Linked DNA regions of Homo sapiens: region 2 is linked to region 1. The links are contacts of gene promoters, found by promoter capture Hi-C in blood cells and fetal thymus (Javierre and others, 2016). All regions are on one chromosome and are shown on one strand. The core of a region is centred on a gene start or on the middle of the fragment in contact, and the rest is flanking DNA. Distances in the headings are between cores, read along the strand shown.

The links. Contacts are between HindIII fragments. The CHiCAGO score rates a contact against its expected background, and 5 or more counts as called.
Region 2: a contact is called between the fragment with the promoter of SEPSECS here and a fragment that was not itself captured in region 1, in 1 of 17 cell types (fetal thymus). The highest score is 7.4, in fetal thymus.

What each region holds. Positions count from the first base shown.
Region 1 is chr4:20,699,112-20,705,767 of GRCh38, forward strand. It overlaps PACRGL (parkin coregulated like), which reads left to right and starts at 1,347. Exons shown (of 9, transcript NM_001258345.3): 1 at 1,347-1,676; 2 at 5,355-5,422; 3 at 5,549-5,703. The coding sequence starts at 5,371. RefSeq lists an enhancer at 1,460-1,579. The HindIII fragment of the contact is 483 bases long and covers 3,844-4,326 here.
Region 2 is chr4:25,158,734-25,165,353 of GRCh38, forward strand. SEPSECS (Sep (O-phosphoserine) tRNA:Sec (selenocysteine) tRNA synthase) reads right to left here and starts at 1,716. Exons shown (of 11, transcript NM_016955.4): 1 at 1,523-1,716; 2 at 220-374. The coding sequence starts at 1,636. It overlaps SEPSECS-DT (SEPSECS divergent transcript), which reads left to right and starts at 1,939. Exons shown (of 2, transcript NR_037934.1): 1 at 1,939-2,020. RefSeq lists a silencer at 1,400-1,569 and an enhancer at 1,680-1,979. The HindIII fragment of the contact is 2,962 bases long and covers 1-2,657 here.

The DNA.
Region 1 (6,656 bases), core at 2,835-5,334:
CTACTGAGTCTGACACTGGAGATGCTAGGAGTAAGGAAAATATAATAAGTCTTGAGGAAGCTGGAGATGAGAGATTATAAAGTAAAAGTAGCTGAAGATACAGGATATAAGATTTTTTTTTTTAAAAATTTCTTTTTCCTTTTAAAAACGTTAGTTAAGCATGCATTGCGCTAGGCATTGGGGATAGAAAAGCAATAAAGACAATTTCAGTCTAGTGAGAAAGATAGGTAAATACATTATAATAAATTTTAAAACTTAGATTTGTATGCAAGGTTCACAGAACATTAGAGAAATTAGACATAGACAGAATTTATTAATTCATTTTATTCATTCAGAAGACATTAGTTGAATACCCACTGCATTATGCTTGAAGCTGGAGAAATAAAAAGGGCAAAGTTAAAATCCTTATCCTGAGGAAACTCACAATCTAATGAAGATGCTTCTGGGGTGCTGGTCAAGTAGCAAGGATGGAGCTACAGGAGCACAGAAGGATTACACAGCCTCGAGTGCTCAGACAATGCCAATTTAGTGTTACCTAAGCAAAAAGTTAGGGCTTTGGGTTGGCAACAGTAGAGGATGCTAAAGAGGAGTGCAGTGGACAGGTCCAAAGGGCTTGGACTTAACTATGACAACCCAAATTGTTGCTGGTGGAATGCAATACAAGGGAATATGCATTTTCCTGCAGCATCAGTTTTGTTATGATGTGGAGCATAAAATCGTGCTTTTCACTATTAAATATTTTTACTATTAAAAATAATGTAGAGCACAAAATCGTGCTTTTTACTATTTAAATGCGGATATACTGTGAAGAATGCAATAGCATATGAGATTCATAAAATACGACAGGAAACGAATTTCCACAGCTAGGCTTATGATTTAGCCAGATAGAACAGGAAACTACAAGAAAATCCCACAGCTGGGCATGCAGATGGCTTCGGCTCTCACCCCTGAAGACTCGGGGGGAGGAGTTCACAGTCTTCAGTTCTCCGAGTATTGAGGGTAAGATAGCTGAGGAACAATGAGTATTAAGTGTGCGAGAAAAGCGTTTAGGAGTTAAGCACATGGACTGAAGAGAGGCTAGGGCGCAGGCGACTGGGAACCCGTCATCGTCCCTCTGCTCTCCGGACCTCTTATTCGAAAAACATCCTCCACCACGTGCCCCTTTGTCGCCAGAGACAGCGCCTGCAGTGCGTGAGCTGCCCCCTGAACTCCTGGCGCCTGGTTGCCTGGGCAACCCTCTTCTGGGGCGCCTCCGCGACCTCTTACCATTGGTTTAGACGACGCAGCGTGCGTCTGACGTCATTGCGCGGCGCGACCAGGTTCAGGGGCGGGCCGCGCGGAGCCTCATTTCCCCAAACGCAGGCGCTCGGTGGCGGTAGCCGCGGTTGTTGGCCGACCGAGTGCCGGTCATAAGCCCCCCCCGGTGGGGGGCAGCTGGTGTGCGGATCGCGGCGGGAGAGAGGCGCGGTAGGAACGGGTCCCCGGAGCCGTGAACCGCGGGTACAGGTGTCCTGTCTGCGCTCTCTGCCAAGCCGGCTTGCTTCCTGATCTGTTGCTAGGGCCGCTGGACCCCGTTGCTAAGGACCCTTGAGATCGTGAGCGCTTGGAGTGTACCCCTCCTTTCCTGGGGTAGAGGGTCAGTCGAGAGTAGCCTTCGTTAACCTTAATTGAAACTGGTAAACTCCTCCCTCGGCCCCTTTAAAAAATCTCTGTTTTTTCTTTATTTTTTTTCTGTGTCTTCCTCTTTTGCTGACTTTGATAGCATCCTGGCTCTGGACTGGTCTTTAAGTATCTAGAAGTGAGTGTAGGAGGGGTGGCTGGGAAGGTGGAAAATAGATTCTAAGACCCCTAAGCAGATTGTGCGACCCTAATACTGGCCCTTTGAATTTACTTTCTGGTAAAAAAGGGACTGGGATAAGTGACTATTGGGCTCTGGGTCTTTTAGAATTTGACAGAGCTTTACAAATGGAACATGGTTTCTTTAGTGGGGCTCTTACTTACACGTTTGGAACTTTCTAGACCTGGATTAGAAAGCAGGGCTCTGCTGACTGAGAATTGTTTTAGTTCAGTGGTCTTAAAGCTGAGTACGGGAGAAAGTACATACAGGGAAAGAAATAGGCTATATCAGCTGCCCAAACAATGATAGAAAGTACACTTTCCTACCATTGACACAGATACCGGCAGTCCCTTGTAGATAGATGACCTGTAGCAACCAAGGAAGCTTTAAGGGGAATGTGTGGGCTTCATAGGGTGGTTTGTTTGCTTTCTGATATTGTGACATAGTTTAGGTGTTCGAAGTTAAGTGGATTTATGGATTCTAATATCTATAATTAGAATGTTTATCTTGTTTTGTAAAAGAATGAGCGGTGACCTTGATAATATTTGTAACACAAAATAGTTCTTACAGGTTCGCTTCTCCCCATCACTGCCCCTTTACACCATCCTCTACATGTTATTTAATGAAAAACCACTTGAAAGGGTTACCAAGGATAAGATTTTTAAAGCTTGCTTTCACAAACAACTCATGCTCCAGGCTTGTCAGTGGCATGCTTCCAGGTGGATATTATTTTAAAAAATTGACTACATTTCCCGTCGTCCCTTGGTGTCCGTGGAGAATTGGCTCCAGGACTCCCTCCCTCCCCCCAGTCTCTTTCAGATACCCAAATCCACCCATGCCAAAGTCCTCCAGTCTGCTCTCCGTATCCGTGGTTGGGTCAAATCTATAGATGTGGAACCCGCATATACGGAGAGCCAACTGTAATTTGTCGTTAAGGTAAAGGATAAAAATTTTAAGTGAAAAAGCAATTGTTTTGGAAGGAAATTCTCTAATACAGGATTTTGAAAGGGGATGTAGACGTGTTTGCATTACTGTATGTTTAATGCTGAAAATTATATATTGTACATAAAAGTTGTCCTGTATACTCATAAACTGTAGAAGCTCGATTTTCTACCATGTTTAAAACTTTTTCAAATGAGTTTTGGTGACTTTTTGAACTCATTCAAAATATAATGCAACACCTCCCCATTAGTTTGTTACAGGAACAACTTTTTGACGTGAAGGAAGATAGAAATTTAGCCATAAAATTCCATCCAAAACTTCCACTGAATTGGTAGGTAGTATTGAAAAATGTGCATCATAATTTGATATGGCTGCCTGTGCCCTTGTTATGTTTGTGGGTACGCGTCTTTGCTGTGCATCGCTTTTATCTGTTGCAGCTGTTAACAATTGATGATCAAGAGAAATTGGACCTCAGCTGGTCTTCAAATTGATGTAGCCCAAGATGTTAAGCCAGATTTTTTAAAAATGACAAAACATGTGGTTTCACTATTAGTAATAGTAATACTGAAGAACACTTTGTACCATTGTAAAGAAAATTATAATAATAGCTAAGACTCATGTGGCCCTTACTGCATGCCTCCCATTATGGAAATGTTGTTTTACATATATTCTTACTAGTCTTCATCAACACTTAAAGTAGTTCCTGTAATTATGCCCAATTATAGAGTTGAGGAAACTGATGCATTTTTTTTTTCAATAGAAACTTGTGTTGTTCCCCCTCCAGGAGCTTCTCAAAACAGAAGTCAGGCACAATATTAAATACTTGTTGAATGATCACAGAAGTACAATAGTAGGTTAACATATTTAAAGCTTCTCTCAGCTTATTTTAGACTATTATCTGACAACTTTAATGAGATTTTAATTACCGTAGTATTAGAAAATGGCCCTGGGAATGGAGGTGAAGTGTGATACTGGGAAGTAAGTCATCTGCTGGTAGTGGGATGAGATAAATGAGATCAATGTACTAAATCAAGGAAATTGAAATTATTCAGTGTGCAGAAGCAAGCTTACATTTAGGTTATCTTTACATGGTATCAGACTTTAAGCTGGTACATCATGTTTGAGATATCTGGCTAAATTTTATAACATGGAGCTTTGTCCTCCTTTTGAGGATTTCTAACTTGTTAAGTGGATTAAAAGCATTTCATGTGAGGAATCATTTTAAAAAGTATCAGTGTTTATCCTGAAGAAGAAAAAATGAAGGAGTTAAGAGTTAATGCCATCAAATATTTGAAAAAGTGTCATTTGGAGGTGGAAGAGGACTTTACCTGTGTTGTCCTAAGGGAAGATCTTACACTATACTTGAGAGGCAGTCATTATTAAAGGCATTAAAATGAGACGTGTGCTAATAGAATAACTAGATTGTCGTGGAAGTGAGGGAACAGAGTAATCAAGTAGAAATAAGGACACAGGATAGAAATCAATGCCATAGAAATACACATTTGAGAAACCAAGATGAGGAAAGGCTTCATGGAAGTTGGGAATGAAGCTTGGCCTAAAAATACCAGTAGGCACTTGGGTATATGAGTGTGTGTGTGTGTGTGTGTGTGTGTGTGTGTGTTTGTGTGTGTGTATTTCTTGCTAGAGATACAATTGTAGAAATTGATTGGATTAGCTGGAAACCTTGGGGTATGAACTAGAGTCCTCCATTAGCAGAAAAAAAGCAACTGTGTAAGGGAAAAGTGAACCAGTATTCCCTGGGTGAGTAACTTGAGAGATAATTTCATTTGCACCTCCAGAAAACCTTGACAGGCTTTTATTTCCCTCTTTAAACAGGTCAGGAAGTCGAGGTTTAGGGAGGTTAAATAATCTGCCTAAATTCATAAATTTCATAATTGGTAGAACTGAGATGCAGACCCATATTTGAGCCCAAAGCTCTTTCTTTCTCATCACGTGTAGCATTGAGTGTAGGAAATGAAGGAAAAGGAGACAATGGTGATTCTAAGTTTTTCAGTCTGAGGACCAGAAAACTGGTGGTACCCTGGGTTAACAAGGGGTTCATAATAACTTCAGTGTGACAACCTCAGTTTTAGTTACATTCAGTTTAAGGAGCTTGTGATACATTGGGTAGGAGAGTTCATTATGTCACTGGAAAAGTAGAGCTTGATGTGCACATGTTAACATTTGGAGCTTTGGAAATACAGAGGCCAGAGAAGATGGAGAAGATGACAGGGAATGTACCAACCACTCCTTTCAGAAATCTAGTCTGTGTTTTCTAATGTGGTCAGAGAATTGGAAGTGAGTTTCTAACAGTTTATTTTGACAATTTGAATGGAAAAAAAGTTGACTTTTGTACATCATTTCTTGGAGATGATTATTTTGCTGTTATTGATACTATTGAAGTTGACATAATTTCATGTTTTCTCATTAGTCTTTTCCAGTATTTTGCTCCATATCAACTTTTTTGTGTGTCTTTTACTGTATTGTATACTCTGTTCTGGTTTTGTCTTTTTATTGATAACAAATGCCCCTCCAAACAAATTTTGAAATCAACTTTTTTTTTTTTAAACTGCAGGAGTGAAAGGGAAGCAATGCAGAAATCAGAGGGCTCTGGAGGTACACAGTTGAAAAACAGAGCAACAGGTACAGAGCTTTTGTTTTTAAGTGAAGAGGTCAAGTTTGTTCATGGCACTTTCTGTGCTACAGATGGATGCAGGGTGAACTTTATTGCTTGTACCTGGTTTCTATTGATGTTCTGTTTTTTTCCAGGTAACTATGATCAAAGGACATCATCAAGCACACAGTTAAAACACAGGAATGCAGTTCAGGGAAGCAAATCCTCATTGTCAACCAGTTCTCCAGAGTCTGCAAGAAAACTTCATCCTAGACCAAGTGATAAACTGAACCCTAAAACAATTAATCCGGTAGGTCCAAAACTATTCCTAACTCAGTAGATTTTTTAAAGGCATTTCGCACAGTATTGAACAATGCTGGATGCTGTGTTGAGTTTTGTCCCTTTGCTAGTTTTGAGCTAATAATGAGAGAAGGGCATGTGGTTATTATGATGAAGAACTGAGATAATCAGTCACATGTGGGAGTGAGTATGGAGGTAAGGAGACATAGAAGTTAACCTGTTTGGGATATCGCATTGTAGTGCATAGAAAATTGCACTTTAGCTTTAGATTTTATTTGCAGTGTTGTTTTACTTCCCCATATCAATGAATAAACTGTATTCAGTTGCCACAGAATGCTTTTCGTGCTTCTATAGTTGCATAAAGGTCTCTGACCTTTCCTGTGTTCTGTAAATTAGTTCCACCAGAAATCCTAGTTGTAGTACTAACCTCCTTTGCCCTCTCCTAACAATTTAATGAGATTTAATAAACATGGGATTTATGCAGTAAAAATATTCAGAAGTGAACACACCTGTGCAACAACACCAGGTGTTATTTGCCCCATGCCCAACTTTGGTAGGGTGAGATGTTAGTGATTTCAGCCTTCGAAGGGGATTGTGAGGGTGGCTGAAGCTCCTGACTGACTGTGGTGGTAGGTAGGGGTATGGCAGTTACTTAAGGAAGCAAAGGTATAGTGAGCTCTCCAAGACAGAAGGAGTGTCCGACTGGATAAAAGCAAAGTGACAAATAGTTTGAGCGGCTATGTTCCTTTGCTTTTTTCTGTAATCTACAGTGTCAAGGAAATTGAATACCTGAAGAAGGCCCTAATAATCTTGTTGCTCTCACTTCCTTTGCTTATGTTTAGTTGAGGGAGTTTACGGTGACGCTTCAATTTTCTTCCTCTCTTTAAAGAAGTACTTTTTGAATTAATAATATTTAGTGACCTTAGTCCTAAGTTTTAGTAAAAATCGAGGAAAGTTTTGGGA
Region 2 (6,620 bases), core at 466-2,965, 4.5 Mb after region 1:
ACCCCCACTTAGTTTTTACTCTATTGTCTTTGAAAAGCACCTGCTGAGATAAAATTGTTTCCATCTCCCTGTTGCATTTGGCTTACATATCCATTAGAGCAGGGAAGAAGTGGTTTACAAACTGACATTTGATAATCTAATAAGATAAATACTGCTGCCATTATTTTGAACCAAAAATAAATAAACGATGTATCTCCTGTACTACTTAAAAAAAGATACCTGTAATGACGACGAGCAACCAGTGCGGATGCCACTCTCCCTTCCCTTTCTCCCACACCACAATTGCCTAAGAAATTGTTGCTGTCCATGATTGCAAGTTCATGTAAAAAGAGTTCAAGTGTACTTTCATCCCAGCCATTCTCTGGACACTTGCCCTTAAAAAAAAAAAAAAACTTATGATTATATTTAATAAAACTACCGTTCTCTAGAATACTACAGGAATACAGTTTTTCTTTTTAACGTGTATTTTGCCACGCTGCTTGTTTTCTAAAATTCAAGCATAAATTCACCACTGTATAGAGACCGCAAAGAGGCAAAACGTTTGTACATTTGATTACAATTATTTACAGATTTCGAGAAGTGATGATAAATGCATACAATGAGGTTTACTGAGATATTTAAATTTCCGTAAGTGAAACTAACTGAAAACCAATACAACACATCCCCAGTGAAGATGCTTCAAACCAGGGCGTTACGACTGGGGCGGTGGGACGTGGAGAAGGGCGGTAGTTGTCAAACTTCAGTGAAATTTTGGCCACGCGCTGTAGCTCACTCACGCCTGTAATCCGAGCACTTTGGAAGGCCAAGAATGGCCGATCACTTGAAGTCAGGAGTTTGAGATCAGCCTGGCCAACATGGTGAAACCCCATCTCTACTAAAAATACAAACATTAACCGGGTGTGGTGGCGGGCGCCTGTAGTCCCAGCTACTCGGGAGGCTGAGGCAGGCGAATGGCGTGAACCCGGGAGGCGGAGGCTGCAGTGAGCCGAGATCGTCACACTGCATTCCAGCCTGGGCGAAAGAGCGAGACTCTGTTTCAAAAAAACAAAACACAACAAAACTTTTAATGAAATTAAAATACATGAACGCTGGCAGGAGGGAGACCTGTGAAGTTCCGCGGAAAGCTCGTGGTTCGAGTTAGCATACAGTCTACAAACACCATTATGTGTTCTGAGTCGTTGAGGGTTGGTGAAAGATGGAGGTGCGAACTTTGCCCTTTCCGCGAATAAAAAAGTACACTGGGACTTTCCCTCACTTCCGCATCCCGAAGTTAGAAACAGCGGGACTCAAAACCCCGACCCCAACACCCCCTCCTAACAACACCATTTGGCTTTCACTGGCTTTGGCAAGGCTGAGAAGGCACAGACCGCAGTCGGTCAGCTAGGGCAAGCCAAGCTGAGACAGACTTGGGACTAGTCTCAAGCAGCGAAGAGCTGCCGGTGAGGCAGCACCAGCGGGGACGCCCGGCGGAGCCAGAGCCCCGGGGTCGCGGCGGCTGGGGAGGGGACCGACAGCTCGGTACCTTCTCCAGAAGCAGCCGTATGAGGTGCTCATGCGAGCGGCGGGCCTCACAGCCCTGCCGCACGTAAGCCGGCGACACCAGCCGCTCTCCCGCCGCGAAGCTCTCGCGGTTCATGACAGCGGTGGCGACAGTGGCGAATAAGCGGGAGCACTAGCTCCACACGCCAGACACACGACGGAACCAGAATGCAACTCGCCGCCTGGACGGTACGGCAGCGCCTTGGGACAAAAAACAAAACAAAACAAAACAAAACAAAAAAAACACTTCTCGTTCGTGCACATGCGCAGACCTTCTCAGATGGCGCTCCAGGAGGAAGTTGGCGTATTTGAGCATGCGCGAGGGAGTCCGCGCTTTTCGCTGACTTTTGGCAAAGGAAGGACTGAAATTAGCCCCGCCCCGCTGCGGCTGATTCGTCTAGTTAAACCCTGGTGTTCCTGACACAAACTTCAGGAAAGGATTTTGCACTTGTGCAGACCGGGCGAGCAGAGTAAGAAGCAGGTACGTGGGTTTTTCCAAGTTCTGTGTTTCAGTCCTGTTGGATGGTTGAGATCTGTGCAGGGTCTGTGCTTCCGCCTTATTCAAACTGTCAGATGCCAGAACCTTCGATCTTTACTTTGATACATTTCCACACTTATTACTGCCTCACAACCCCATAGGAAATAGCAGTGCCCCACTCATTTTCCCCTTGACACTACTGTTTAGCCATAGCACTTACTACTCACCACGTGACATGCCAGACGTTTGTTTATACACACACACACACACACCCATACCCATGAATGTAAACTCTCTAACCTAACGGCAGGACCTCGGTTTTTGCTGCGGTGCCCCCTTCCCCCGGGCACCTAAAACAGTGCCCAGAATAAAGTAGGGCCTAAAAAAAAAGTTGATATTGAATTAATGAATTAGTTTGACCATTCTGAAACTATCCCCAAGAACATTTTGTAAAATTGATTAAGGAGGGGAAAAAAATCCAACTAGGCTTACAGCTGCTGTTATTAAGCCAGCTTGCAGTGTGGCCGACTTTCTTGTAGCTGGTTGCTACTTACTACCCCAGGAGAATGTGGCCCTTGTCACAAGACTCTTCATTCTTTTTCTGCTCTGAAGATAAAATCTAAGACATTATGAGAAGATAAGCTTTCTGTTTGCATTGCTTCTTTAGGTCCCGCATACCAACAAAACTAAGGACGCCAACTTGTCTGGAAGGCCCAATAAAAAGCTGATTCATGGAGGAATGCAATTGTCACATCCTAATGATTTCATCTCCCTTACCCCAACGAATCGATAACCCCAAATTTTCCAGCCCCTCACCCTCCACAAATCCCCTTAAAAAACTTTGCCTAGAACCCCTTGATGAAATGGATTGAAGCTTGAGAACTCTTCCTGTTTCCTGGCTTGTAACTTGTGATTATTAAAACTTTCTCTGCTGCAAGCCTGCTGTCGGAATACTGGTCTGTTTCTGCACAGCCGGCATAGGAACCTGGCAGTGCTGTAACAGTTCAACAACTTAGAGGTTCACTGCTGGAGATCCCTGCCTCCAGTTTCCTTACAATCTTCATCTTATGTGAGCCTACAGTAATTCCTGACATTGCTTTCACCTGGTGGTTTGTCCATTTGCACTGAGTCACACCCACTTGCAAGAGCTGATTGTTAAATGTTCAGTAATTTTGTGAGCTAGTTTTCAAATACAGCCACTCAAAAATTATATTACAAGCAAAAGTAAAAATACTCAAAATTTGTCACTTCCTAATTATTTTACATTTTACTATTATCTATGCTCTTCAGGTTATTTACATGCATTTTATCTATATGGTGGAAATTCAATGTAATGTTATACTACTGCACATCTTCCAACTCCTCTTTTGATGATGTCACGTTGGCCATGGTGGGAGCATTTACACCATGGAAATCAGTAAACACCGCTAATCAGGCCCTTACACTCCAACCCACTCCCCTAGAAGTCAGTTGTTCAACATGTACCAGCTCATCACTGTTTCTACTGCATGTTCCCATGGCATCCAGCTATTAATATAAATCAGTCTATTTATGGTATTTGTTGAATTGCATTTCAATTGTTAATTTTCTGTCTCAACTAGACTGTGAACTCCTGGTTCACAAGGGCTATACCAATATCTGTGTTCAAAGCACAGCACTAAATACATAATAGCTGTTTGATAAATATTTGTTGAATGACATAGAGCATTTAACTACTTTAAACAGAAAGGTAAACCACAAAACAACAAGAATTTAGCATACTTTCTAAAATGAGTATTTTTCAAACTTTTGGAAAGTTGTGTTCCTATTCTCAAAATGCAACTATTTTTGCAACTTCTTCTTTGGAAAAGCCTTCAAAGCTGCTTTGTCAATCACATGCAAAATGTGCAAAAATCCCAAAATTAATGTCATTACTGAATGGACACGCCAGGTTTTTGAGCCAGCTTCTTCTCTTACCTTATTCACCACCTTACTTCAGAAAAATGTTTGTCTGTTTCCAAAAAGTTAGTCATTGTCAAGATATGCATTCATTAAAGGTATTCAAAAGATACCAGCTTTGGAAGCAATTTCAAGAGAAGTATTCTAAAATTACTTTCATCCATTCACTCACCCAACAAGTATTTATCCATATGCCCATTTTACAGATCAGGAAAGCAAAGCTCAAGAAGTTTGAGTAATGTATTTAAGGTTATACAATGAGTGACACTAGCAGAATTTAAACCTGTGTGTTCTGGACCTATTTTAAATGATGCTATCTATTAAAAATAGTATGTAATTATTATTTTAAAATAGTAGTTTGTAACTACTATTTTAAAATAGTATGTAATTACTATTTTTAATAATAGTATGTAATTACTATTTTTAATAGGGCAACATCAGAATAACCTCATGGTCTTTACAAGATGAAGCATCATTTAAAATAGGTCCAGAACACACAGGTTTAAATTCTGCTAGGGTCACTAGTTGTATAACCTTAAATACATTACTCAAACTTCCTGAGCTTTGCTTTATCTGTAAAATGGGGATATGGAAGAGGCAGTTATGATGATTAAATGAGAGGTAATTGCTCAATGACATCTTCCCCTAGATAGACTGACTATACAAATGGACAATGGCCAGATCATATGTGATAACAGAACTCTCACCCACAACCTCTCTAGCAACTAGACTTCCAAACCACCACCTCTGCAGCAATCAGCCAAGAATGGTTAAGACTTGGGCAATGACTGCCAGCTTCCCTCTTTTATTACTCGCTTCTAACTTAAGACCAACCAGAGAAAGCTAAATATCCTCCTTAAATTACATAAGATGCCCTGTTTCTAGTTAGCCAACCTCTAGCTTCTCCTTGCCAACACCTCCAATCGGCACACCTGAATTCTTCCCTGTACCTGAATCTTTCACTATAAAGCTTTCCCACTCCCCTGCCTGCCTTTGAGACTCTTGACAAATGTAAATGATGGTGACTGACTCCCTTCTCTAGCACGCTCTGAATTTCCAGTTTTCCTGGAGACTTCACTGAGACATGGTCTGTGCTGTCCATGGCGGTGGACCTCAGCCTTTGGCCAGTTGTGGTGCCCACAGGGGCTCCTCGTGCCTTGTTGCTTATGGCTTGTCAAGTCCATGCCAACATGGTAAGTCAGTGCTGGCTTGGAACTCCTCCCTGTTTGCCTTGAGTTCCTAAGCTATTCATTTGAAGTTTGGTACTCAGATTTTGTTACTGGTTCCTATTTGCATCCTTAGTGGAATCAGGCAATTCCTTTTCATCCTTTGTGCTGTCCTTTGTACTTCTGTTTTGTATTGTGCTATCTAAAAGTGTTATTTTCCATAAGAAGGAGAATCATAGGGTAGAACATGGCCATGGGCCCTACAACCCTGTTGTTTAAGCCAGTTTCACAGACCGATGAGTTTGCAGTTCTCACCAGACTACATCCGTTTGGACAAATTTTGTTGTGGGTCACCAATAAAACTGGATGAAGTTCTCCCTTCATCTTGATTTTTTGTTCTGAGGGCTTGCTTTTGATCCAAAGAAAGAGGTCATTCTGATATTCTGCCTGCCAGGGGGCACAGATTGTTCGGTCTGTGTTCAAAAGGGGCAAAAATCAGGCTGGGGACTGAGACAGGATAAGCACGAGCATAACTTTCAACACCGTAGCCAGCTCTAAGTCTAAATCCTCTCCACCAGGAAAAACTTCTGCTTCTTATACATACTCTCATTACAATCCTAATGCTTGTGCCTATCTCTCTAAGTGGCATAACTTCAGCAATGAGGAGTTGGGCCTTCAGTGGCCACTCTGGGAAACACTTGACTTGACAAAATTTTTTATTTGATGGGCAAGAAAAGAAAGGGAATTAAGATTTCTTAGGTTTGATGGGCAACAGTTTTTTAGTGGTACACAGAGGCCTCCAAAGGAAATTCTGATTCAAGAATTATTCCACTAAAAGATGCTTTGGCTAAAGCTAACAAGCAATTTGACATCTTAAGCAACAACAAACTAGACTCATTTCCTAGTAAATCTTCCCCTTTGCGTTGGCTCCCTATATCCAGATGTCCCTCTTATCCCTTAGCCTTCTGATAGCTCTCTTTCTTCCCTTCCATCAACTCCCCCCTTCTCTTCCTCTTGTCCAGGACTCCTGCATTTTCCCAACAACTCTCCTAAAACTCTAAAATGTCAATTGCTTCTAAAGATCCCTCTCCCCTCAAAAGCCAGGTATGCAGGCAACTGCAGAATTTAAACTTTGCACCCAAGATGAATTAAGAGCAATAATCAAGAATTTCTCTACTTCCAAACAAGACCAGCAACTATTTATAGAAGAATTTAGGATTCATTTGAATGCATATGATTCAGGGTTACCTAACCTAAATATATCAATGTATACATATATTGGCCAGATCCTCAGGTGTTAAATCTTGGATTTAAAGAAAAGCTGATTGGACTGACATGAGAAGGGATCTACAAGGATCGCTTTTTCCCCAATAAACTTAAGCGTCTGAAAAAAAAAAAGCCCTGAAAAGTAGAACACAGCCTCCTAAAAGCAATATCCCAAACGTTTTCTATAAAAATCTGTTGTACCATAATTCAATAATGCAAACACAGACAAGATG